7 separate regions of the Homo sapiens genome follow, and all the other regions are linked to region 5. Evidence: promoter capture Hi-C in 16 types of primary human blood cells and fetal thymus (Javierre and others, 2016). All regions are on one chromosome and are shown on one strand. Each heading gives the region's core, a stretch centred on a gene start or on the middle of the fragment in contact. The rest is flanking DNA. Distances are from core to core; before and after follow the strand shown.

What was found. The method cuts DNA at HindIII sites, captures the fragments that hold promoters and counts their contacts. A CHiCAGO score of 5 or more calls a contact.
Region 1: a fragment that was not itself captured here is called in contact with the fragment with the promoter of CSNK2A3 in region 5 in 1 of 17 cell types (M2 macrophages); the score reaches 6.9 in M2 macrophages.
Region 2: a contact is called between a fragment that was not itself captured here and the fragment with the promoter of CSNK2A3 in region 5, in 1 of 17 cell types (endothelial precursors). The highest score is 6.3, in endothelial precursors.
Region 3: a fragment that was not itself captured here is called in contact with the fragment with the promoter of CSNK2A3 in region 5 in 1 of 17 cell types (endothelial precursors); the score reaches 6.4 in endothelial precursors.
Region 4: a fragment that was not itself captured here is called in contact with the fragment with the promoter of CSNK2A3 in region 5 in 1 of 17 cell types (M2 macrophages); the score reaches 6.4 in M2 macrophages.
Region 6: a fragment that was not itself captured here is called in contact with the fragment with the promoter of CSNK2A3 in region 5 in 1 of 17 cell types (endothelial precursors); the score reaches 7.4 in endothelial precursors.
Region 7: a contact is called between a fragment that was not itself captured here and the fragment with the promoter of CSNK2A3 in region 5, in 1 of 17 cell types (endothelial precursors). The highest score is 6.5, in endothelial precursors.

What each region holds. Positions count from the first base shown.
Region 1 is chr11:11,023,078-11,026,427 of GRCh38, forward strand. No RefSeq gene overlaps it. Among named protein-coding and RNA genes, the nearest start is that of LINC02752, 91 kb to the right of the region's middle. The HindIII fragment of the contact is 1,024 bases long and covers 964-1,987 here.
Region 2 is chr11:11,766,415-11,770,142 of GRCh38, forward strand. No RefSeq gene overlaps it. Among named protein-coding and RNA genes, the nearest start is that of MIR8070, 15 kb to the right of the region's middle. The HindIII fragment of the contact is 417 bases long and covers 1,938-2,354 here.
Region 3 is chr11:11,639,022-11,642,617 of GRCh38, forward strand. LOC105376553 (a long non-coding RNA gene) reads right to left here. Exons shown (of 4, transcript XR_931034.3): 3 at 733-806. Among named protein-coding and RNA genes, the nearest start is that of MIR4299, 16 kb to the right of the region's middle. The HindIII fragment of the contact is 1,349 bases long and covers 589-1,937 here.
Region 4 is chr11:11,042,709-11,045,979 of GRCh38, forward strand. No RefSeq gene overlaps it. Among named protein-coding and RNA genes, the nearest start is that of LINC02752, 71 kb to the right of the region's middle. The HindIII fragment of the contact is 5,094 bases long and covers 1-3,271 here.
Region 5 is chr11:11,351,631-11,354,990 of GRCh38, forward strand. It overlaps CSNK2A3 (casein kinase 2 alpha 3), which reads right to left and starts at 1,620. Exons shown (of 1, transcript NM_001256686.2): 1 at 312-1,620. The coding sequence starts at 1,489. The coding sequence ends at 314. All of the region lies in intron 6 of GALNT18 (polypeptide N-acetylgalactosaminyltransferase 18), which reads right to left. The HindIII fragment of the contact is 3,495 bases long and covers 1-1,980 here.
Region 6 is chr11:11,665,158-11,668,841 of GRCh38, forward strand. No RefSeq gene overlaps it. Among named protein-coding and RNA genes, the nearest start is that of MIR4299, 10 kb to the left of the region's middle. The HindIII fragment of the contact is 1,007 bases long and covers 1,735-2,741 here.
Region 7 is chr11:11,611,703-11,615,153 of GRCh38, forward strand. All of the region lies in intron 1 of GALNT18 (polypeptide N-acetylgalactosaminyltransferase 18), which reads right to left. Among named protein-coding and RNA genes, the nearest start is that of GALNT18, 8.6 kb to the right of the region's middle. RefSeq lists an enhancer at 1,882-2,051. The HindIII fragment of the contact is 200 bases long and covers 1,480-1,679 here.

The DNA of each region.
Region 1 (3,350 bases), core at 226-2,725, 330 kb before region 5:
AGAGTGTGTTATACTAAAGAGGATGTCTCCTGTGTTCATTCTCCTCTTGGGGTGGATGTAGCTGAGAGAATAAGAGAGCTTTAGAGTCCCAATTGAGGTTACTTTTTATGTGCTGTTAGTGCATTGGTGGCCCCTCCAGCCCTCACCTTGGTAGTTATGACAAATCAGAGAGTGTCCAGCAGATAGTGATCAGGGTGGTGGGAGGACACTTAAAGAAATTGGGAAAAGCTGTGAAACGAAGTGCTTGGTAAGTGGACAGATTCTATTGCATAAGATTAATGCTGCCTATTAATATTAGAAGGTATTAATAGCTGCCATTATGTTAGGTTTTTCATTTAATAGAATGTGTTATACCCACATCAGCAGGGCCGTGTCAGTGTGGGCTGTTGGCCAAGATGTGGGAATGGCATCATTATGTGTACCCAGACACGTAATGGTATTCTGCGTTGGGAATCTACTTCTATGATCTGATATAGGTTGTTAATTAATAAATGTATTACAGAAAAAGATGCCCAGCAGCAAACTGGTTACACTGGAGAATGGTTGGCCCAAATCCAAAGGATGAATGTCCTTTGAACATCATTTCATCCTCTGCTCCCTTTGTAGGCACCTGGAATTAATGCTGAGAAGAACTGATGTTTGCCTTAGCAAGGCATATACAGTGGCTTCAGCAGGCCTGGGCAGGGCCTGCAATTTTCAGACCGAGTGCTGCTGAGTTCAGCACACCATCTCTTAACTTTAAACTGTGTGTCCCTTATCCTTTGCAGCACCCTTGCACTATTGTTTCCCTTATGATATAAAAGTATTTGTGTGTATCCATGTCTTTAGTAACAATGAAAACCCATGAAAGGTAGCCCAAAAGGGGTTGTATGTTTCAAGAAAAATGGCAGAAAGCACAGTTCTTTGTGGGATTAAAAAGTATGTGTATGTATTTAATATAAACCAAGTGTGTCTGCATATAAAAGCTTGTCTACCTCCTTCGTTCATATAGCTCTCTTGGATTTTGTGGGTATTTGCTTCAGGACAGGCAGGAACTGTTCTAGGCAGTGGCCCAGAGCGAGCATTACTAACCTTGACTGTCATTCTGTCCCAGGTGGCATCCCCTCCTCAGATCCCAGCGCTGTCCATATACATGCTGGTCACATTTAAAGGGCCATGGATGGGGCTTAAGGGCAAAGCTCTAATATGTCAACAATTTCTTCTAACGGGATCTTGCTTCTCTTCTTTTGTATAGCTCAAGTCAGAAGTAATGTGATGTTTTATTGGGATGGCCTTGGTGTTTTGTTGTCTACACTTAATTATATCTAAAATAATTTGTTTTCTCTGTGGCCAGCAATGGATCTGTGAATTCACCAGTCTGGGTCCTGCCTCTCAGCCTTTGCCACTTCACAACTGGGGCCGGTGGATTTTCAGCTGCAGGCTTGGTCCTCCAGGCCTGTTTTTAATGGTTATGGTGGGAGGAGATCAAGATAACCCAGGGTTGAGCATTGGACTGTCCTGCTGCCTGGGTACAACTAAGTCTTACCTAGATCTGATGCTGGGTTTCTGCTTTTCCCTTCTGACAAAATGCTAGCCCTTGAGGACTTGCCTTGAGAACCTTCTAGGACTTTATGTTCTACTCCTGTTTAACACTACTGATCATTTCAGCATTCTTCAGGAGCATGGATTTTGAACAAGGAGGCCAGAACAAAGTAAAGAAGTTAGTCTAACCATTAGAATACATTAGACACACCCATTGACCAATGGGGGGCAAGTGCCACTGTATTAGAGAAATTGATGATGTAATATTCAGAGAATAATAAATAGTGCTTCCAGCTTGAATGATGCATAGTCTCTTTTTAGAAGAAAACAATGCTGACAAATAATTTTATTATCATAATTAATTTAAATATACACAGATGCTAAACTAAGTATAATCTTAAAAACATAACCCATGTATAAATTTAAGTATAAGCAATACTGTGTAAACATTAACATTTAACATAAAAGCTTAGACAAGCTTTTATGAATTTATAAAATACAAACAAATCCACAAAATCAATAGAATTAAGATTAATCTTTAATAGGATCAATGATGTTGGTTTGCTAAAACAAAATCATTTCTTGCCATGTGGATATGGTCCTGGGGCTATGGCACAGGTTTGTGTGAGTTGGCCACGACTCTGCTGAATGTGCTGCATGCCGCATGATGACTCAGTGTGTCTTCCATCTTCCTCTATCCTAAATATCATGACACTTTTGTTTCTACAGGATGCTGTGAGGTCATTTGTTCCTCACTTGTCAATGATCACATTGTTTGTGTTGAAGTCCATCACACTCATTTTTCACTAGTCTGAGAGAATTAAAGCAGTTCTATTTGACCCTTATGCTGTCATAAACACAAATCTACATGTGGACATAGAAATTCTGTGGTTTGAGTTGGTCATTCAGTTGACCCACAAGATATGAATATTGATTATTTTTATATTTTCATCAATATGAAAACAAATTAAAAAAACAATATCAGAATCTCATGAACTCAGAGAAAATGTCCAGTGGGCTTAGTTTGAGAAATACTGGCATGAAAAGCCCAATGGCATGACTAGCTCCCTGATATGGGGCAGGAATTGAGGGAAAGATCAGGGGCTTAAATTGCCAGAGGGTGACAAAATCAGTTTCTACCTGCTGTAATCTATATCCCAGCAAAGTTGGTCTGTTCTCAGATTTACTGGCAAACTGAGGCAACTTAATTGCTCATTCGCGTTCTGCTCTTCAACTATTATTCTGTATCTGGTATGGTGCTGCCATGCCTCTCTGATAGTGACCACTTGCCGTCCTGCCCAGTGGTAGGCTTAGGAATTAGGGGTCTAATCTGGCTGCTCATTGTCCAGAAGCACAGACTGGAAACTCTAGTCTGAAAAATGTTTATGCTATTCTAATATTTGAGTGTGTATCTGTATCATCAGGAGAATTTTAGATAATAGCCATTAGGAGGTCCCAAGAGAATGGCCTATATTTCTAGTTGTAAAGGGTCTTTTGGAGTAAAGAAGGAACACTGACCAAGGAAACGTTCAGACAACTACAAGGAATCCATGAGCTTGGTTGCCTTTTACAGGAGGGGCAGATAAAAAGGATATGGGCTGTAACTGGCTTTGATAACGCCCCAACCCAATGAAGAATTTTGAGTTGTTAAAACATGTTGTTTCTAGACTCCAAACACTGACCCACTTGGGAGAAAATGAGGCAGCATGGTACCAGATCTGTGGGATCTGTTCCCAAAATCCTATTGACAGGCTTGGTCCACTTGCAGGTCACCCTCCATGGTCTTTGGTCAACTTTTCTGTGGTCATCATAGCTTGATGGGACTTTCT
Region 2 (3,728 bases), core at 896-3,395, 420 kb after region 5:
ACTAAAAATAGAACTACCAAGTGATTCAGCAATCCCACTTCTGGGTATATACCCAAAGGAAGAGAAATCAGTATGTTGAAGAGATAACTGTATATCCACTTTCACTGTGGTATTATTCACAATAGCTAAAACATGGAATCAACCTACATGTCCACAAATGGATGAATGGATCAAGAAAATGTGGTATGTATACACAATGGAACACTACTCAGCCTTAAAAAAGAAGGAAATTCTGTCATTTATGGCAATATGGATTAACCTAGAGGACATGATGTTAAGTAAAATAAGCCAGGCACAGAAATACAAATACCACATGATCTCACTTATATGTGAAATCTAAAAAAGTCAAATTCAGAGAAGCAGAGAGTAGGATGATAATTACCACTGACTGGAGGGTGGGGGTTTGGGGAGATGCTGGTCAAAAAGTACAAGTTTCAGTTAAATAGGAGGAATAAGTTTTAGAGATCTGTTGTACAGCATGGTGACTATAGTTAATTATTGTTACTTGAAAATTGCTAGGAGAGTAGATTTTAAATATTCTCATTACAGGCTGGGCGCGGTGGCTCACGCCTGTAATCCCAGCACTTTGGGAGGCCGGGATGGGCGGATCACGAGATCAGGAGATTGAGACCATCCTGGCTAACACGGTGAAACCCCGTCTCTACTAAAAAAAAATACAAAAAAATTAGCTGGGCGTAGTGGCGGGCGCCTGTAGTCCCAGCTACTTGGGAGGCTGAGGCAGGAGAATGGCATGAACCTGGGAGGCGAAGCTTGCAGTGAGCCGAGATCGCGCCACCGCACTCCAGCCTGGGCAACAGAGCGAGACTCCGTCTCAAAAAAAAAAAAAAAAGAAAAAAATTCTCATTACACAAATGATAAGGATGTCAGGTGATGGATATGGTAATTAGCTTGATTTAGTCATTTCATAATAGATACCTATATCGAAATAGCATGTTGTATACCACAAACATACATACTTTTTATTTGTCAATTTTAAAAAGTTGTTTACGTAGATGGAATCAAACAGTCAAAAACAAAAACACAAGAATACATAGAGAACAGTCAAGGTCCTGCCTCTGGATGGGCTGGTCCCTAAGGATACTAAATGAAGATGGCAGTGCTGGAGGGAGTCTTGAGCTTTTCAGTTGCTGAAAAGCTACCGGCTGGTCTGCAGTGAAAGAAGTTCCTATGGAAAAGACCAGAAGAGTCACTGCAGCTGAATGAGCCACCATTTGGCTTCACTGTGAGATTTCCTGGCTCTAGACCTTCCCGAGACAGATCTACACTTTCTTGGGGGCTCACTGTGTATAAACTTTCCTGAGGAGAAAGACTCTAATTGGTTTCCAGACTCATATGTATTCTTTTGGTTGGAACCTAAATTCTTACATTACAAGGAATGTTTCTACTACCAAAAGCATTTATTAATACATGAGAGAGACTGAACAAGGTAACAATAGAATTCCAAATAGCAATCAAGTTTCTCTGAAAAATATGACTATTTTATGTCCAAGAAGTTCTGTTAGCTCCTTGGCATTGATGTGATTTGGAAAATATCACTAATTTTTCTGAAGTGACAGATTTCCTTAGCCAAATGAATGGATTCCTTTTATCCAGGTCCTTAGAATCCTATCTCAGCAGCTTCCAGTCCACCCCTCTGGCCTGAAAATTGTATTGTTCATTACAGACAGTCTTGGACTATCAGTTGCAGAGAAAATACTCCATACAGAAGCCCCTTACTGCTGCTTACAGACCTTAAATATGAAACTGGTATCCAGAGTGAAAATGAAATCAGAGGACTTCTACCAGTAAAGCACCTTAGCAATGCCTGCGGAGTCCTCTGGGACTGAAAGTTACTGTTTGCAAGCTATGTTGATGATATACTTTTGGTTTAAAATAACCTTGAGTCCACAGAGCCCAGTGTTTGCTGCCATTTTTTAAGCTTGATGGTGAAAGGATCTGTTCAAATTAGCATGCCTTCCTTCAGAGGTGTCCAGGACACTTTGTGTCTATGTCAACCAGTGGCATCTCTTACACATCATTAGCTTGGTCAATCCCTGTAGAGAAACTGAGGGATCTCAGTACAAAGAACAAGAACTGGATATATTAACTCCTTATTTTGTGTTACCATGTGGTAGCCTTTCCTAATACGTACTCCCCATCACTTTCAGCCATTCCCAGTGCTGATGGAATAAATGTTTTTGAAGAGTAGAATCAGTTTTATGGAGTGCATGTTTTAATGAATACAGTAATGTGTTTACCTCCCAATTTATCTTCTACATTTTGGCCATAAAATTTAACTGTATCTGAAGGATAATTTAATAGTTCTGTAAAGAAAGGCAGCTTATAGCATGAAAAGCTTATAGCTTTTCCAAGTAAGAGGAAAAATTTAAGCTGGAGGTGGTTTTAAAAATCTTTCTAATATCCCTTACAAGAAATACCATCCTATCCATGCCCAGGGTCTTTGAGATTTGTAGATGGGAAATACTCCTAGTATTGGATGATTCCATTTCCACAAGGACTGGAACGTGTCAGAAGCACAATGAATGCCCTTTTTTTTTCTTAACTTTCTTTCCAACTTTATCATTATCATTGTCATCACTGTTAGGTTACGCACTGGTTTTGCCTAAAGCAACAAACCATCAAAAATTCACAGCCTTCAAGGCCGTCCCTAAGTTATCGGCACACATAGAATAAATCTTATATTAACATTATTGCATATTTCTATCAGACTATGACTATCCAGTGATCTGACCAACTCCCTCCACCTTTGTAAGCAGAAAAGCTCCATCGATTTCCCCCAGACAAATGGAAATATTACTTGGAGAATTTCAACCCCAGTGTTGCTTCTGCCTGAACTAACAAGAAGATTTCATCCTACATTGCATTCAGTCTTGCCTCCAGCTGTGAGAAATTCTGCCACGCTGGAATACGGACTTAGATGTGATACACAGTGGGCCATGAGTGATGTGCACCAGCCAGCAGAGGGACATTTTTCTAGGCAATGCTGTGGACTCCTAGAAGTAGGAACTGAGGCATACTTGGCTCTCTGTCCCCTAGCACATAACAGAAGATCCATGAATGCTTATTGAATTTCAACTAGCTCAGCTGAAGAGGCTGGTTCCAGCAAAGACAACTGGATGGCTCAAGACACAAAGTCTGACAGGTACAGTTTGTTCTGCACTGATTTAGGCAAGGCAAGGCTACTGGTAGGGTGCAGTGGGTGGGAGACAGAAGACAGGTGATGATGGAGTACTGAAAAGGGAAGAGCTCAGGTATTTGGAGAGATGTATATACATACAGGCAGGTGATGCCAATTCAAGTGATGCATTCATTCTTAGCAGGACCTCAACCAGTAACTTGAGAGGACTGAGTTCAGGTAGTAGATTTCAGCACTTCCCCACCACCATCCCAGCATGGAAGAAAGAAACTGACCTGAGTGTAAGTCCCAACCACAGAGATAGAGTTCAAGTTAGAACCCATTCATAGAGAGAGAAAGTATAATGCAAGACATAATCAGCAGGCCACCACAGGGCAGAGATGGTAGCAAATGCCCAGTTTGGCAAAGTCTCATCCTGAGTCAGGAAGTCCCAGGACTGTGGGGCACTCAAATAGTCAGAGTTCATTCTTGTCATTAGAACATCAAGTCTGGGAGTGTGACTTCACTCCAGGCTGTCCAGGTTATGGGCACCAGGCTGCTGTTGTAAGCTATGTCCTGATCAGGAATGGCT
Region 3 (3,596 bases), core at 13-2,512, 290 kb after region 5:
CGCTTCTTGGCCTCTTTGTGGTTATGTAGGGCCATGTGACTGATGTTGACCAGGGCAACCTGGGTAGAAGTACTCTGTGTCACTTTTTTTAAACTGGAGCATTTAATTGCCAATGCAACATTTGTCAGAGTTGTACTTTTCTTTCATCATGGTAACCATCAGTGATCAAAATGGGAGCTGCTCCATCAGCTTGGGACCCGAAGCAGGGAACTGTAGAGTTGACCGAGTCCGTCCATGATAGACATACAGCATGAACTGGAAAAGTCTTTGTTGTTATAACAGCTGATAAAATGTTTGGATTGTTTGTTACTGCACATAACCTAGCCTATCCTAATTAACATGTTCTCTCTGTCTCTCTCTCATTCTCCCCAACCACAGCAACTCTGTATTTGTTTTACATGTTAGCTTTCTGCATAAGATTTTGTTTGATAGAAGAGTCCAAGAGCTTAAAAGAATTTGAAACTCTCCATCAATGTGATTTTTGAGGCCCCTTCCAGTCAGAAATCTATGGTTCTATACAGATCCTTCCAGCACTCCAGCTATCTTCCCTATCATCTTTACGTATTTTGACTTTATTTCCTCTCCATAAGCTTCTGTTAATTTGATAATTATCTCTCACAGAGATTTACCTTCACGTACAATTTTATGTCAATTTTTGGATCTCAAAATGATGACCCACTTTTTCTTCACCACATGTACTTTCACTTATCACAACCATCAGAACAGACTTACCTGCCAAAGTTGACGGCTCCACTCTGACAAGGTGGAGACTTTTTGTGAGCTGTCCCCATACTGTCTTTGTTTCCCTGAGATGCAAATGAAAATATGTGCCTTTACTTTAGAATTATAGCTAGTCTGAGTGTTTTAGTCAACTAGTATCCCCCACTGGGCCTACTCAGAAGTCTATGTAAGAAAGATTTCTAATAAACTTACTGATTTTTTAATATAGTGAATACACATAATATCAATGTTTCTTTAATAGTCTGGTGGCTTCTGAAATCTCCCTTTTTCAAGAACCACCTAGACCAGAGGGGTTGCTATGGATAGCTTAAATAAGATACCAACTGAAACCTGGGAGATAAATTAAATCAATAGTTATCAAATTTTCTGGTATCTAATAATCAATCTAATAATCTCCCCCTACAGCCCCCACCAAGTTTCTAATTCATTTGATCTGAGGTGATGGCCTGGAATCTATATTTTTAATAAGGGACTCTGATGGAGATGGTCACAGAACCACAATTTGAGAAATGTTTAGGCTTGATCTTTCAGCTGTTCTTAACCATAGGAGTCTGTGGTTAATTTCAAATTCCAGTGTATACAAGAGATTCAAAACATTCAGCTAAAAGTACCGCAGGAAAACCACTGGTCATTTCTAAATATTTCTTCCTTGGTAGTGGAACCAAGGCATGGGAATGAAGGAGCTGAGATTTCACCCAGTAAGTAAGGGATCTACTGGAGATGAGGGGGAGGTCTCTTATCTAATGGTACCAGTGATGCCAAATCAGAGCCCAGAGCTGGTAAGTTGCTATGGTGGGAGAACCAAGATGAGGAAGACAGCCAAAGCAGGTTCTGAAAGTGAAGCATAAAGACAGGAAGACGAGGAGGTGAACATAAGAGTGGCAGATGCAGGCAGTTTCTGGAGGAGAGCACTCAGTGAGTCCTAGAGACAGGCACAATGGCTTAGATGTAGAAAACTAAGGCAAGCCAATAGGAACAAGCCCACTCAAGTAATTCACTCCCTGGGGTAAAGAAAAGGAGTTTCTGGGGACCAGATCTCATGAAAATTGGCCTGGGTTTTAACCCAAAGTGACCAGGAGTGGGAGGAGCTGAAAGATAAGTATAATCCATCACTCAGGGAAGAACCAAGAGTTAAGCCAAATAAATCTGGTGGATAAGTTAAAGTATTAACTTGATGGAGCTAGGAATAGGAGACAAGCTTTTAGAAGCTAAAAATTTGGGGAGCTGGTAGAAACCAGATTGGGGTAGAGAGTACAACACCAGAGCGGGAGTGAAGAGAGAGGTCAAAGGCAATTGCCCTATTGCTGCTATGAGGCTGGCCTCTCGTTTTGGTCCCACGTGGTGTGGAGTGGGTTGGCCTGGTTTGAAGACAAATAAGCCAGGCAGTGACCTGTCCCCACTGGATCACAAAAAGCATGGGGCCCTTGTACCCAAGGCCTCTTTTCACAGCCAGAACTTGGCTGAGGTCTATTCATCCAGCTTGGCAATGCAACAGGCTGAGCTATCAGCTGCCAAGCTCAGTATTGAGGAGTCGGAGTAGATGGTCGGGATTACTTGGGGCATGCAATTTGCCAGGCTCATGTTTGGCAAACAAACACAGCCTAATAGAGAGACAAAAGGTTTGAGAACAAAGAAGGTCTGCATTCTCTCCTTCCTCATCTTCTTTTTCCTTCCCTTATAGGATGCCTTTGCTGAAACAATGGGCCATGGCCCAGTAATTCCACTGAGGCTGTGTTCATTGTTTCTCATCACAAATTTGGGCACATCCTTCCCCAATTAAAAATTCTTTGTGCTAAAGGAGAAAATAATTTAGGGCTCATTACAGTTTTGTTTCCAAAGCAGTTAATAGAATATGGTAGATAATGGAGGGAGAAGGCAGAACTGGGCTGGAAAACTGGAAAATTGACTCCAGTCCCAGTTCTGACATTCCCAGTTCAGCCATGTGATTTTAGGCAAATCACTTCATCTCTTTAGGCTTTTGTTTCCTTGTTTGTGAAAGGAAGGCTATTGAGTCATAGTTTCTAAATGTCCTTCCAACTCAGACATTCTCTGACGTCCATGATTTGAAAAGCCTGGATTGCACTTCCTTCCTACCTAACAGGAAAGCTTAGAAAGATGGAGCTGCCTCACCTTGCACAAATAGGTGCTTAATTGTTGGATGAATGAATGGAAGGATCAGAGAATAAGTGACACCCAATGACACACATTCTGGGACATCTTCATGAAAGGGTTGCCAAACCAAGATGAGAAAGACACCAAACAGGTAATGAACATGAAGCATAAAGTAAGTCAGGGAAATGGGGAGGTGGACACATGAGTGGTAGAAGTAGATCCACCTTTGACCTCCACAAGTGGGAGCTCCATTGATGCTAAGTCATAGAATCATAATTACAGAGGTTCAGAACTCAAATGAACCTGAAGACCACTGTCATGTCAAGCCAACCCATTTAACAGGTGGAGAAATAAGACTAGGAAAAGTGACTTGCCTGTGGTCCCAGAGCTAGCTCACAAAAGAGAGCTAGGAGCCAGCTCTTCTGCTTCTCTCCCCTGTGCTTTACCTCTGCACTGTGCTGCCTCACATTTTATGAAAGAGCAGCAAAAAAATGGAGCTGAAGCTTTAGGTAAGGGCCCAGAGTTGATAACCCAATGTGACTTTAATGGCAATACTGGAGAAAAAGACCTCCCAGAATGTTTCAAGAAAATACCTCTTATCCCAACCTATGTTCCTTCCTCCCATCCCTCAATTACAACTGAATAGGGACATAGAGCAGCAGGTTCTGCAAAATGCATACCCCATAAGAGAAGATGACCAGAAGTAAAGACAGAAAGAACTAATTTTAGTGGTATTCTGGGAA
Region 4 (3,271 bases), core at 42-2,541, 310 kb before region 5:
AGTACACCTACAGCTATAGTAGTGGCTGGATGGAGCCAAGGGGTGGCCTATGAATGGAAGACGGGCATAAAGAGTCCAACTCTCCTTTCATTGTGGGTTTTTTTGAAAACTATAGGCAAATAGGTATACATATCCCCTCTTGCTTAGATAAATGGTAAAATAATACTGTATACACTGTATTCCAGCTTGCTTTCCTCACTTACCCTGTTGTAGCAAACACTCCACAGTATTACTTAGAGATCTTTGTTGCTTTCCACAGGTGCCTCATGCCCCTTCACACGGACCCACCATCATATAATGAACCAGTCCCCTTTGGATGAGGGTGTTTGGGTGATTTCCAGTTTTTGCTTTTATAAATACTGCTGCAATGAATAAATGTTCCTTTACTTTTTTATCCTTTTGTGTTTTACAAGTGTTCCTTTGACTCCTAGATGTGGGATTCTAGCTTAAAAGATGAATAAGTACGTAGTTTTTCTAGATATTGCCAAATTCTCCTCCATAGGAGCTGTACCTTTTGCATTCCCATCAGCAATGTAAAGAATGCCTGTTCCCCCTGAGTTTCACCAATAGAATTTGTTGTCTAACTTGGATTTTAGCTGATTGGCTGATGAGAAATCAAGTCTCGATATAGTTTTAATCTTCATTTTTCTATCATGAGCAAGGTTGCACATTTTTTTCATACTTCTATATTTCTGCAGCTGAGATGAGCCCCCTATATTTTGGCTTTCACTTTGAGCCTCAGTCATATCTGGGCTTTTGCCTTGCAGGGCATGCTGTGACTTCTTTGGCCAGTGGGGTGACGAGGAGCATTTGAGGATACCTCTTAAGCCTGTGATCTTAGCTTTGCCTCTCTGAGGCCTACAAGCTGGAGATCAGCTTCAGTCCACCTGGGAACCAGTGAAAAACAGTAATAATCAAAACAGGCTTTACACCTGTATAGCAGTTTGCAAAAAATCTCAGATGAATTGTGTCATTTGGTCTTCTCAATAACCCCATGAAGCGTGTGCTTTCAACCTGTTTACAAATGGGGAAACTGAGGCTCAGAGAAGTCAAGTGACTCACCCAAGGGCACACAGCTGGAGAGTGGTAGAGCTGGGCCTCTTCTCGGGTCGGTTTGATCCCAAAGCCCTGGCTCTTCCCACTGCACCATAGAGAATCTGAACTTGACAGATGCTTTACCATTCAGGCTGCCAAGTGGAAACTGCAAGATGGATAATGAGGAAGTCATTTTTCAGGGGATCAGTGTGGATGAAAGATTAATTGATGAAATGCTGCCAAAAGGAGGATTCAGAGTCTGGATTATGTTCCAGGAACTCAGGGCACCAGGAGGAGGGAGAACATTCTAGAAGAGAAAGATAACAGGAGAGGAAAGAAGGAGGATGGAGATCAAAGCCGGACACTTGACATCCCAAACAGCTGGTCTCAGGCACTGCTTTTGGGTGGCAGCGCTCACGGGATACCCCTGCTTAGAGGCTGGCCACCTACTGGTCCCTCTGCCCCAGTTATCTTGGGGACCTGGGGTTTCTCTGTCTCCTGCCCTCCCATGCCACACCCAAGGCAGTGGCCTCCGTGGGGAGGCCTGCCTGGTACACACTGCTCAGATCCATCTGCTCATCTCCATGCTGCCAGCCCTGCCTCCCTGGGCTGGCTCCACTCCCTGCCTTCCTCTTGGACATGTTTTCTAGGGAGGTCATGTCTTGCTGCTCTCAGAGGCAGGCAGAGCAATGCTGAATTCTGACCCCATCACTTTTTGTGCTGCCTTAGAGAGGTCGTTCTCAGAACCTCCCTTCCCTCAACTGTAAAATGAGGATGGTATGCCTGCCAAGAAGAGTTGCGGTCAGGGTGAAGTAAGGTCTGGAAACCTCCTAGCCCAGTGCCAGGCCTTGGGAAACTGCTCCGTAAGAGGCGGCCATTTTCATCTTGGTGATGCCACCTTGGCCTCTCAGAAGCATGCCTCCTTCCCTGTACTGTGCTCCTCTCCAGCCTTCTCTCAGATAATGCTGGCTGTGATACTGGATTCCTGGGTGTTGTTTCATCCTTCCCCTTCCTGGGGAATTATTGCTTCTAACCTAGCTGCCCTGGGCTGAGAGGAGGGGCTGGGTCAGCGGGAGGCAGGAAGGGCAGCTTCGTACACAAGCCCTCCCTGGGTCTTGCTAACTTCCTGCCCACTCTCCTGTCCCCAACACCTTCCCACTCTGCTCCAGCCTGGGGGAGGTGGATGCAGCTCACTCTGTGTAACCAGTCCCTGGCAGAACCCTGTTCCAAGGGAGGACTCCCCAGGTCATCTCAGCTGGTGCTCCTGGGCTCTTTCAGGAATCTCTGCCTGCAGACCTCACCTGCTACCTCCCCTCAGCCCTTGGTAGAGCCATGATGGACAAGCCTCTTCACTGGCTTGGCCAGGAGAGCCTTAGGCCCTGGAACTAGGTGGGAGGGGCTGCCGGGGTACAGCCTCAGAGCTCAAAGATTTAACTCTCTTTCCTGAGGGGCCAGTTATAGTCCCTAAAATGCTTTAAGAGGAGGATCCTACCTGCCTCTTCTTCTCTAGCACAGCTAGAGTGATAACTTGGTAGGAGGACTGTGGAGGTACAGCAGGACCAGGCCTGTGGGCAGGAGAGGTGCCAGGACTGATCAGACTGGAGCTTGGCAGGGTTACTGGACCAGTTCCTGTGGTGGCTGCCAGGTACCCCAATGAAATAAGCCTGGTGCAGGCTGGCATCATCTGGTGCAGGGGCCTATGGGGAGGGGCAGCAGGCATCTCAGGAAAGCAGGGAGCCCGGAGAGGATCAGAATGGCCCTTTAATGAGCCCCTCTTGTGTGTTGGCATTGCATCTGTGTCAAGTGGGTGGTAACAGCAGAGCACAGGAGGCATATCCTGGAACCCAGAGAAAATGATGGCAAGAGCTAGGCCAGGAGCCATGCTGCAGCCTCGGAGACCGAGGCTCAGGGCACAGCCAGTTCCGGCAGATAATTGACATGCTAGGCAGGAAACAGAGGCAGAAGCCCAGTCATATGACCTAGATTAACATGATAGAGCTCAGGGGAGCCAACGAGTCTGTGAGAACACAGTGGTCCCGAGTTCTCTTGGGTCCCACCTGCTAATGGGGCTGAGACTCCCAGCCTTCTTCCCATCCTGCTCAGGGAAATCTCAAGGACTGGCCAGAGCTGACTGTGTAGCTGTTTTGCTTGAGAGCTGAGAGCCAGGAGGGGCTGGAGAAAACAGGATCTTTGGCTTTCTCCCTGGCTATAATTCACCATTTCTACTTCCCACCCA
Region 5 (3,360 bases), core at 370-2,869:
TGACACCTGCGCTATCTACTGTAATCACTTCTTTGTTTTGAAATAGGATCTCTGGCCCCCATTACTGTCACTGGTGCTGCCAGAGAATGACAATGAGCTTAAATGTCATAGGGATTTGGGGAGCAATTTTCTTTTTTTTTTTTTTCAGCCTATTATAATTTTTTTTTATGACTGAACTACTATAAATCCACAAGCAACGGTTCAGACACGTTGCTTCTGAAGTGTTTCACCCCTCCCCGCCAGGCGCAAGCTGCATCAAGGAGGGGGTGGACTCCCCCACCTCTGCTCAGGCATCAGGAGACAGATAGGGCCGTTACTGCTGAGCGCCAGTGGCAGCTGGAACAGGCATCCCAAGGGGGTTGGCAGCAGCAATCACTGGTGAGCCTGCCAGAGGTCCAAGGGGTGAAGGAGTTGGCACTGAAGAAATCCCTGACATCACATTGGCGCTGCTGACGGGCGTACTGCCCCCTGGCATGCTAGATGAACCCATTCGAGCCTGGTCCTTCACAACAGTGTAGAAATAGGGGTGCTCCATGGCCTCTCTTGCAGTAAGCCGTGACTGGTGGTCATATCGCAGCAGTTTGTCCAGGAAATCCAAGGCCTCAGGGCTGACAAGGTGCTGATTTTCACTGTGGACAAAGCGTTCCCATCGCTTTCGAGAGTGTCTGCCCAAGATATCATTGAAACGTGGATCTAATTCAATGTTGTATTTGTCAATATAGCCATATAAATCTTCTGTCCCCAGAAACTTGGCTATCCTCACCAACTGATCATAATTGTCACGTCCATGGAAAAATGGCTCCTTCCGAAAGATCATACTTGCCAGCATACAACCCAATCTCCACATATCCAAACTATAATCGTACATCTGATAGTCTACAAGTAGCTCAGGACCTTTGAAGTATCGGGAAGCAACTCGGACATTATATTCTTGGCCAGGATGATAAAACTCAGCCAAACCCCAGTCTATTAGTCGTAGCTTTCTGTGCTCATGATCAATCATGACATTATGGGGCTTGACATCTCTGTGCATAATTCCCATGCTGTGACAATAATCCAGGGCCTTCAGAATCTCATACATGTAAAATCGAATATCATAGTCTGTTAACGTCTGGTACAATTGCTTGAAGTCTGTGTTGTTTACGTGTTCAAAAACCAAGGCGGGGGTTCGTGACACAGGGTCTTTTACAATGTCTGCCAGTGTGATGATGTTGGGACCTCCTCTCAAATTCTCCAAAATCTTTATTTCACGCTTAATTTTCTTCTTTTTTACTGGCTTGAGAATTTTAACAACAACTTTTTCATTATTTGTGATGTTGATGGCTTCAAATACTTCACTGTATTTACCTCGGCCTAATTTTCGAACCAGCTGGTAGTCATCTTGATTTCCCCATTCCACCACATGTGACTCGTAATCCCAGTATTCTCGAGGTCTGTGTGTATTAACATCTGTGTAAACTCTGGCCCTGCTTGGCACGGGTCCCGACATGTCAGACAGGTTGGCGGACAAAGCTGGACTTGATGTTTGGAGATCTGGCAGTCACTGTGTTCAGAAGCAGCTTGGGGGTAAGACCTTGTTTCAGACCTGTTTTCTTCACACTGTGGTGGAAGCGGCAGCGGCTGTGGCCGCTCTCCCTTCTGCTCACACAGACAATATGGCGGCGATGGAGTGGGGAGCAATTTTCTAAAATCCAAATAAAAACCTTCCCATCTCTAATCTGAGAGTCATTTTTATCAGCTAACTGGGCTCATCTATTTACTCAGCATATTCAGAGCCCTTTTTGGGGGTTAAGTCCCTTTCAATTGCTGTGAGGCACCGTCTCCTTGTGGACATGCTTGTGCTATCCAGCTGCTATTCAAAGCACATCTCCTGGACCATGTTTAATTTATACTTTCCTATATGAAGATGAACCACTTACTCACTTAAAGTATTTCTTTTTTTATGTCTCTAATCAGTGGCTGTTTCTTTCCTCTCTCTGAAGCTTAATCGAATCAGAAACAAATCCCACACATATGAATGGCTCATTAGCATGTCCCAGTCAGATTCAAATTGGCCGTCCATACCAGATGCCCCCAAAAGGATAACACTGGCCCAAAGAAGGACTCTTTAAACGAGTGTCCAAAGGGTGTTGCCATGATAAGCCAGGAGGGTTCTTTCTGAAATCCAGGGTAGATACACTCTGTCATTCCCAGCACCATAGAGCCAACTGATGGCAGGTAATGGATGTGTCATTGAGATGGGGTTGGTGGGAGGCAATGTGGCCAAGCCTGGGGAGCAGACATCAGAGGAATGTCTGGTGTCTATGTGTCTGGCTCAAGCATCATCCTCACACTTGGCTCAGTGGGGCCCTTTTATCAAATGATACAAATGAGGCTGAGATGCTGAACATTCTCTCGCTCAGAAATGATATTTGTTCTAAAGAGCTTCCCCTCTTAATCAAATGAAACTCAGATTATAAACACTGGTATGCTACATCTTCTCTTAAAGGATTTGCTCTTTTCATAGACATCAGAATGAATCGTCAGCATGGGCATCATCACTGGTGTCATCTCTGAAAGTCACCGATAGCAAACTCTCATTTAATACAGATTTACAAAAGAGATCAGCATACTGCAATAGAGTAGAACTGAAGGGAACCTAACCAGGACCTCCCTTCATTTCCCAGGTGAGCAAACTAAGGTTCAGGGTCACAGGATAATTTAGAAGCACAGTAAGATATGGATCCAAGAGCCTGCCTTTTGGAAGACAGGAAGTCATTATGGTTCAGAGCATAGCCTCTGGGGCCAAACAGTCTTGGTGTCAAGTCCTACATTTCCCATTTGCTGAACTGGTGACTTTAGGCAATTCACTTCACCTTCCAACACTCAGTTTCCTTGTCTATGAAATGGAGATAAAAGTGATAAATTCCAAAGATAGTTGCTGTGAGAATTAAATGAAGTAATACACAGAGACAGTTTATTTCATCACCTGGAAGAAGTTTAGAGGCCCCTAAGTATCAGCTATAATTATTATCACTATAATATTCCACTGATGATAAGATTCACTATTGCTATACCACAGCTTTTCGGGACAGGGGAAAACACACTACATTCCTCTGAGCTCAAGATTTATATACCCAAGTGCCTACGTCTCACCTTCACTCTCATGTGTCTCAGGCATCTCAACCTTACCATGTCCAAAACGAAGTTCCCGATTTTCTTCCCTGCCTCCCCATCTGTCCCTTAGTCTGCCCCTCATCCATCTAATAGCCGAAGCCTGTAACCTGTAATTCATCTGTAGCAATGTCTTCTTCCTCCCTCTCCACATCCAATACATCGGCAAAAGCAGACAGTTCTACCTCCTAAATATAGCTTGAATTT
Region 6 (3,684 bases), core at 988-3,487, 310 kb after region 5:
TGCTCTGCAATGCCATCGGTCCCCAAATTCTGGCAAAATAAGTCCTGCTGGAAGAAGCCTCTGCTCCTTACCTCCAGCCAGGAACTGCCCCTGTGTGTGAGACCCATGGGTTGAAGAGACCCCTGGCAAATGGTCCTCCTGACCTTTCTCAGGAGTGAGAAGTGATACACTTCCAAGGTGAGCTCCTGGATAGTGAATTCACACCAAGGTGACAGGAAAAACTTCCCAGCTGTGGAAAAGAAAAATAATGCCTGTGGCTTGAGGGATGGGGAGGCAGTGATGGAAGCTCCCAGAATGCTGTCCTCACTGGGTAGACTTTTGCTCTAAGTGCTCCTTCAGTATGAAGGTGACACAGGAGGCAGGACTCTACTCTGGAGGCAGGGCTCGGACATGGGACCAAACTGAGGAATAGCTAAAACAGGATCAGGCTGAAAGCAGTTTTCCATAAGACACACCCACCAGTGTGCCATGTCAGATTACTATTGTCATGGCAACATCCATAAGTTACTGCCCCTTTCCACAGCAATGACCCAGTGACCTGGAAGTTACCACCCTCATCCTAGAAATTTCCACAAAACTACCCCTTGGTCTTCATATATTAAAAGTGGGTATAAATATGACTGCAAAACTGCCTCTGAGCTGCTATTCTTGGCACACTGCCTATGGAGTAGCACCACTCCACAAGGAGCAGTACCTCTGCTGCCATACACTGCTGCTTCAACAAAAGTTGCTGTCTAACACCACCCGCTGGCCCTTGAATTCTTTCCTGGGTGAAGCCAACAACCCTCCCAGGCTAAGTCCCAATTTTGGGGCTTGCCTGTCTTGCATCAAACAGATTTAGTATGCACTGCCAGAGATTGGGTGGTAATGAATTCCTTCTCCTAGCAGGTGGGCTACTGTTACACTGGCATTTTAGGCATTTCCATTAAAATGTTGCATCCACTAACAAATACTTCCCAAAATGTATCACTTGCAACCACGTGAGCTCAGGGGACAGAGCTGAGAAACCTGGAGCCTTACAGATGCCTGACTTAGTACAGCCACCAACTATCAGCCCAGAGCCAGACCCAAACTTCTCAGAGCGGCCAGCAGAAATTCAAGAGCAAAAGAACACACAAAAAAATTCTGAGATCTTTTTGAAGAAATGATTCTTCAGAATATAGGACAACCAAAAGCTGGATAAAGAAGGAAGGTAGTAAAGGAAGTTCCATTGTTGGGACAAAGAGGACGTCTCTGATGCACAAATAATGCTGCTGATATTTGTGTCCTAAACCAATGGAGAGCTACATTTTTATTTTTTGCACAGACTAACACGGGGGGTTTGGAGGGTTATTAAATATTTATGAATTTATTTTTTCACATTCAAAATGAAAATAGCTCTCTTGAATCCTATGGGAAAGAATATATATCTTCTCATTGTTGTGCAGAAATGTGTTAGTGTGAGAACTGTGCTTTCGACCATTCAAAAAATATAATATCTGGGCATATTTGAAAGGGAACAACAGAAACAGCCTTCATATTTGTTATGCCTTAGAATTGTTTAGGGCTGTAGAGTTCACATGGTGCATTCACTGCTCTTTCTCCGCATGGGTACCTACGGAGCCTAGGGAAAGCACAAGATTAAAGACGGAATTTTGCAGAGATGTGGAGGTGGGACTCCTTTTAAAATGCAAGGATCCTTGAGAAGGAACAAATGAACAAGTTCAGCAAGCTCTTCTCATATCCCGTAGGTGAAGCTTCCGGTCTTTAATGCCTTGAGCATGGAGGGATGGAGATGGGAAGTTTGAGGGAATGTTAGGAAAACACTGCCTACCTAAAACAATGGGTTTGAATTTTGAGTTACTCCCTTATACTTATCCCACCCCTAGGCATTGTAAATAAGGGGTCCAAGAACTTTTAAATGATGGTAGCCTTTAATCTGCAGATGTATACTGGTGATGCTCATGTATTCATTTTTTCATGTGTGTGGTTGTTGAAGTAAATTATCACAAACTCGGTAGCCCAAAAGAACAGAAATTTATGCTCTCGCAGTTCTGGAGGTTGCAAGTTCATAGTCAGCATCACTGGGCCAGAATCAGGGTGTTAGCAGAGCTCCCTCCAGAGGTCTAGGAGAAAATCTACTCCTTAGCTTCTCCTACTACTTCCTTGGCTGCTAGCATTCCTTGGCTGATGGCCACATCACTCCAATCTTGGGTTAACATCCCCAAATCTCTCTCTGCTCCGTCTTCCCATCTCCTTCACTTCTCCACCTTTGACACCAGAGGATGTCACATCTCCCTCTGCCTTCCTCTTGTAAGAATACATGTGATTGCATTTCAGACCCACCCAGATAATCTAGGATAATCCTCCATCCCCAAATCCTTAACTTAATCACACCTGCAAAGACATCCCCCTCCCCCGATTTTTGCCATATAACATTCTTAGGTCCTGGGGATTAGATATCTTTTGGGGGAGCTATTTTCAGCCAACCACACCCCAGTTGGTTGTGGTAGAAAACATTACTTTAAAAAAGGAGTTAAGATCCCTTTTCTACTCATGTTATGGAAGGGAGGAAGGAGAGACAGAAACTGGGGAATAGGCATGTGCTGGCAGTACAGTCAGAGGCCAGACTCTGTAAATAAGAGAACAGGAGAGCTGGATCCAGGGAGAAGATGGAGAATCAGACCTTCTAAGAGAGTTCCCATTCAGGAACCAGTATGTAAGAGGTAGATGGGAGGAGTTTGGATTCTTGGGGCTAGAGAAGCTTGGAGAGGAGGGTCAGTGGCCTCTATGCAATCAGGGAACAGGCCTGGGACACAGATAGAGAATGGATCCATTGCCATGACAGCTTGGGCTTAGATTAAAGATATATAAGAAAGAATTATATTCAACCCTTCTGAGCATTTGACACAGGTCGTCCTCACGCTTGAATCACTCCCTTCTGGCTCTCCCACTTCTCTGATTGTCCCCTCTAAGTCTCTGCCTTTAGCTCCAACTGTCCACAGCAGTAACCTGCTCCTAAGGTACCCACTGTGGGCTCTTTTTCCATCCTTGATTCACTTCCTGCACAATAAATAGGGTGAGACAGTAGGTGTTAAAAGCACTGGCACTGAAGTCCCACTGCCTGGATTTCAATTCTGGCTGTACCCACTCCTGTAGGTGTGGTCTCAGACAAGTTACTTATGGGCTGTACCACTGAGCTTTAGAATCTTCTCGTGTAAAATGAGGACAATAGGGTTGTCTGAGGAGCTAACAAGATAAAGCATGCAGTTAGCTGGCAGCTCGTGGATGGTGCCCACTGCTATTCTTGTTGGTTTTGCGTGCTGGCTTGCTTGTTTCAGCTCTCCAGCTTATCTCCCTTGTACATCTGAGCCCACAGAGGGTGCTGGCTGGCTATAGTGTGGAGATGGGCAGAACTGGAAACAAGAGGAAGGGGAGAAAAGCTGGGTGCCCAGGCTGTCATGAGATGGAAAATAAAAACATCTTTCTTCTTTTCACCTGTGGGCAGAAGAGCAAGGAGAAATGCTGGGACTGTGCCTGGTGTTGGTCAGGGGCAATAAATAGCTACTTGGGCAGCCCCCAGGCTGACTTTGCTCCAATCCTGCAGCCAGCAAGCGGCCTCTATAACTGTCTGACCCCTCAGCTTCCAAGTTCTCTGGGACCATGGGGAAGATGGAGGGGCTTCAACCAAGGCTGCACAGAGTG
Region 7 (3,451 bases), core at 330-2,829, 260 kb after region 5:
GCACTCAGCCCGGTGCCTGGGACATTTTGGGTGCTCAGAAGTCACAATGAATCTGAAAGAGCTCTAGTCTGCAGCTGGAACACTCCGCTTTTTTGACAAGGACCAGTTCCTGGAGGCCCCACAGTGACCTAGGAGAAAAGGCTGTCCACAGCTTTGTGGTGGCTGCTCCCTCACCCTTCCAGACCAGGGCCTTCTACTGCTGCCCACCCTACCCTCCAGGTTCCTTGTAGACACAAATGTAAACCAAGCCCCTGCCTGGCCTCCCATTTGACCTGAGGCCTCTGAGCTTACACTCAAACACCATGTTTGATAAGATGATCTCCCATTCCTCTCTACGAGAAACATTCATCCTCCTTCCTATTCTGTAGAGAGCATTGGTTTTGTAGCCAGTTTCCCTTCTTGGCTCTACCACCCATCAGCCCTGTGACCTACCTTGAACAAACTCTAAGTCTTCATTTTCTTACCTCTAAAAAGGTAAGAAAAAAGGTAATCTTACCATGTTGTGAAGATGAAAAGGAATCACTAATTTTAAAAATTACAATTTTATTTGTTCATTGAAATAAATAAATAAGTAATCATGCCTGGGCAGCACCTGGGCCAGTCCCTGACCTGCTAGCATACTGTAGCTCTCTTCCTCCATTCCCTTGATACAATCAATCTTTAATTCTCTATATGCCTGTTGCTCTTAAAATAAATCAAGGGTTTAGCTAGGATTCTCATTTGTCGCTTCAAATCTCTCCTTAGCTTTCTAACTCTCATATCCATTGGCCTAAGCAATTTTGGTACTGTTCTCCTAAATCCCCAGATGCCGCTAGCACAACATTTATTAAGCCAAGCTTCGAATCCTGTCTTGCCAGAGTCCCTGAATTACCTTCCTGCTCCTCTGGGATCTCAATGGCCTTTAACTCCAAGTTCCCAGGGGACAGAGATGGATGCACAAGTCAGACTGGCGAAGCCCAACAAAGCACCAGAGCTTGTTAAGATGCAGCACTCAACAATCTTAATCAGGGAACTCTGCTCTGAGACTTAAACTCAGTGCATTTGTAGAATGAACCTATTCACGCTAAAGAACTGGCCACAAGCCTCCTTGTAGGCATCATTTTTCATTGTTCTCACCTGTCCCAAGGTGAAGAGTGCAGATGCCACTTCTCTGGATCTTCCCAAACACTGTATTTCTGTGAGCTCTTAAAGGATGGTGGCAATGGAAAGTAGCCCAGCAAAGTATGCCTGTTGGTTCTAAAACCATTTTAGCAGTGGCTCCATAAGGGAAGCCACTGAATGTTTATGGTGGCTGGACACTCAGGGGTTTCCACTAGCATCATTAAGGACAGCTTCATCTCCCAAAAATAAACCTTCCAAAAACTGAAATTGAATGTCAGGCAGTGAAAGAGAACTACATCTCAGTACTGCATCCCCACTGGGACGAACTGTCTAGCAACATATTTTAATCCATAATCGTGTAGTCAGAAAAACCACCAAAGCTTAAGTGTTCATATAACAAGGAATCCTCTTGCTTAAAGTTCCAGTTGGCTGCACTGGAACTACAGGGGATCTATAAAAGGTATACAGATCCACAGAGAAGATTCCAGAACAGCAGTCATTCCCAATCACTGCCACAACATACTGTGCTGTGGAGCAGTTGTGAGGTAATTAGTGAGTAACAATAATTTAAGTACCAAAGCTTATGAATGATTAGCTTTAACTCTAATAAATTAAAGGGATTTCAAGGTTGTTACATTCCCTTGCATACTAATATGCCTTCTCAAGTAGGAAAATAAAGGGTGGAGTAAGAATGAATGCAATGTGTTAGGAGGTGCATCCTCCTAGCCCTGCCCTAGGGCACATGCCTTGTATGTAGGCCTATGTGTGAGGAAGGGGGAAACATCAAGGACCCCTGGGCTCAAGCATTGCATTACAGATGGAGCTGACTCTAACCCCAAAGGCAAGTGAGATTCAATAACAATTGTAGGAGCCATGAAATGACCACATCCCTGCCAAATCCAAGGCAGAAGCTCCACCCTTCAAGAGACATTCCAGGCCAGCATAAACAGCATGGTCCACCATTCATTGATGGTGGCTTAGCCACCAGTGGACCTCAGTCACTCTGCCTCTTGCTCCTGACTTGAGTGTCATCCAACTTGTATGGCTTCTGCCCTTCCGCTTCATGCATAATTCCATCTCTCCCCAAAGCCCACCATGCTGCCTTCTGGTTACATTTATCACTCACATTCAGCCGGGTTTTCCCTCCAGGAACTTTCTGTGTAACATCACCTCCAGCTGTACTGCTTGGCAATGTGCTTCTCCACAGGGCAGCCTGTCTGTCCCCATCTCCCAGATAGAACCCAGCTAACAAAAAGCCAAGCTTGGCTTTCTGCCACAAACCAAAGGAGACCCTCAAGACCCAAATCAAGACAATAGCTTTGTATTAGTCCATTTTGCATTGCTATAAAGGAGTACCTGAGGCTTGGTAATTTATAAAATTATAAATTTATAATTTGGCTCATAGTTCTGCAAGCTGTTCGAAGTCCAGCATCTGCTAGGCTCCTGGGGAGACTCCAGGAAGCTTACAATCACAGCAGAAGGTAACAGGGAAGCAGGTATGTCACATAGTGAGAGAGGGGTGAGAGAGAGAGGCAAGAGAGTGAGGAGAAGAAGAAGAAGAGGAGGAGGAGGAGGAGGAGGAGGAGGAGGAGGGAGGAGGAGCAGCAAGGCTCTTTAAACAACCAGCTCTTGAATGAACAAATACAGCAAGAACTCATTCATTACCAGGAAGACAGCACCAAGCCATTCATACAAACACCTCCCACTAGGCCCCACCTCAAACACTGGGGACCACATTTCAACATGAGATTTGGAGGGTACAAACATTCAAGCATATCAAGCACATTCAGCTATTCAAGTGAAGTGAGGTCAGAAATCCTATACGATGGTAATGAAGACGCTCCAGTAACCCTGTTTGTGACTCTGAATCCCATAAATACCTTTGGGAAAACATAGGCCAGCCTAACCCAAGTGACTAAAGCTGAACTTCAAGGCCCTCATAAATGACAAAACCAGACGTGGCTCTCTGACACTTTTCATTCTGAATTCTCCTTGAGATTCTCCACCAACCTACTTATCAAGGGAAAATAACAATTTATGTCAAGTGAGTGGGAAAGAATGTGGAATTCATTTATTTTACAGCCTACACACTTCTGGCTAAAAATGAAGATTCTTTGGTCACGGGGAAAAGTTGTGTCCTTTGGCAAGGCTTTTCTTCTTCATAAAGCTGTGGTTCTGAACTAGTAACAAAGGTAATTAGGCTCAACTCCTAAGTCCTGCTATTGAACTCTCTCAAAATGTCAATCACTGTTACTAATATAATTTCACATGCAACAGTTCATTCCAGAGGACAAATAGCTTTACTATTTAAATGACACTCTTTCCTCAAATAAACTCCATGCACTCAGCA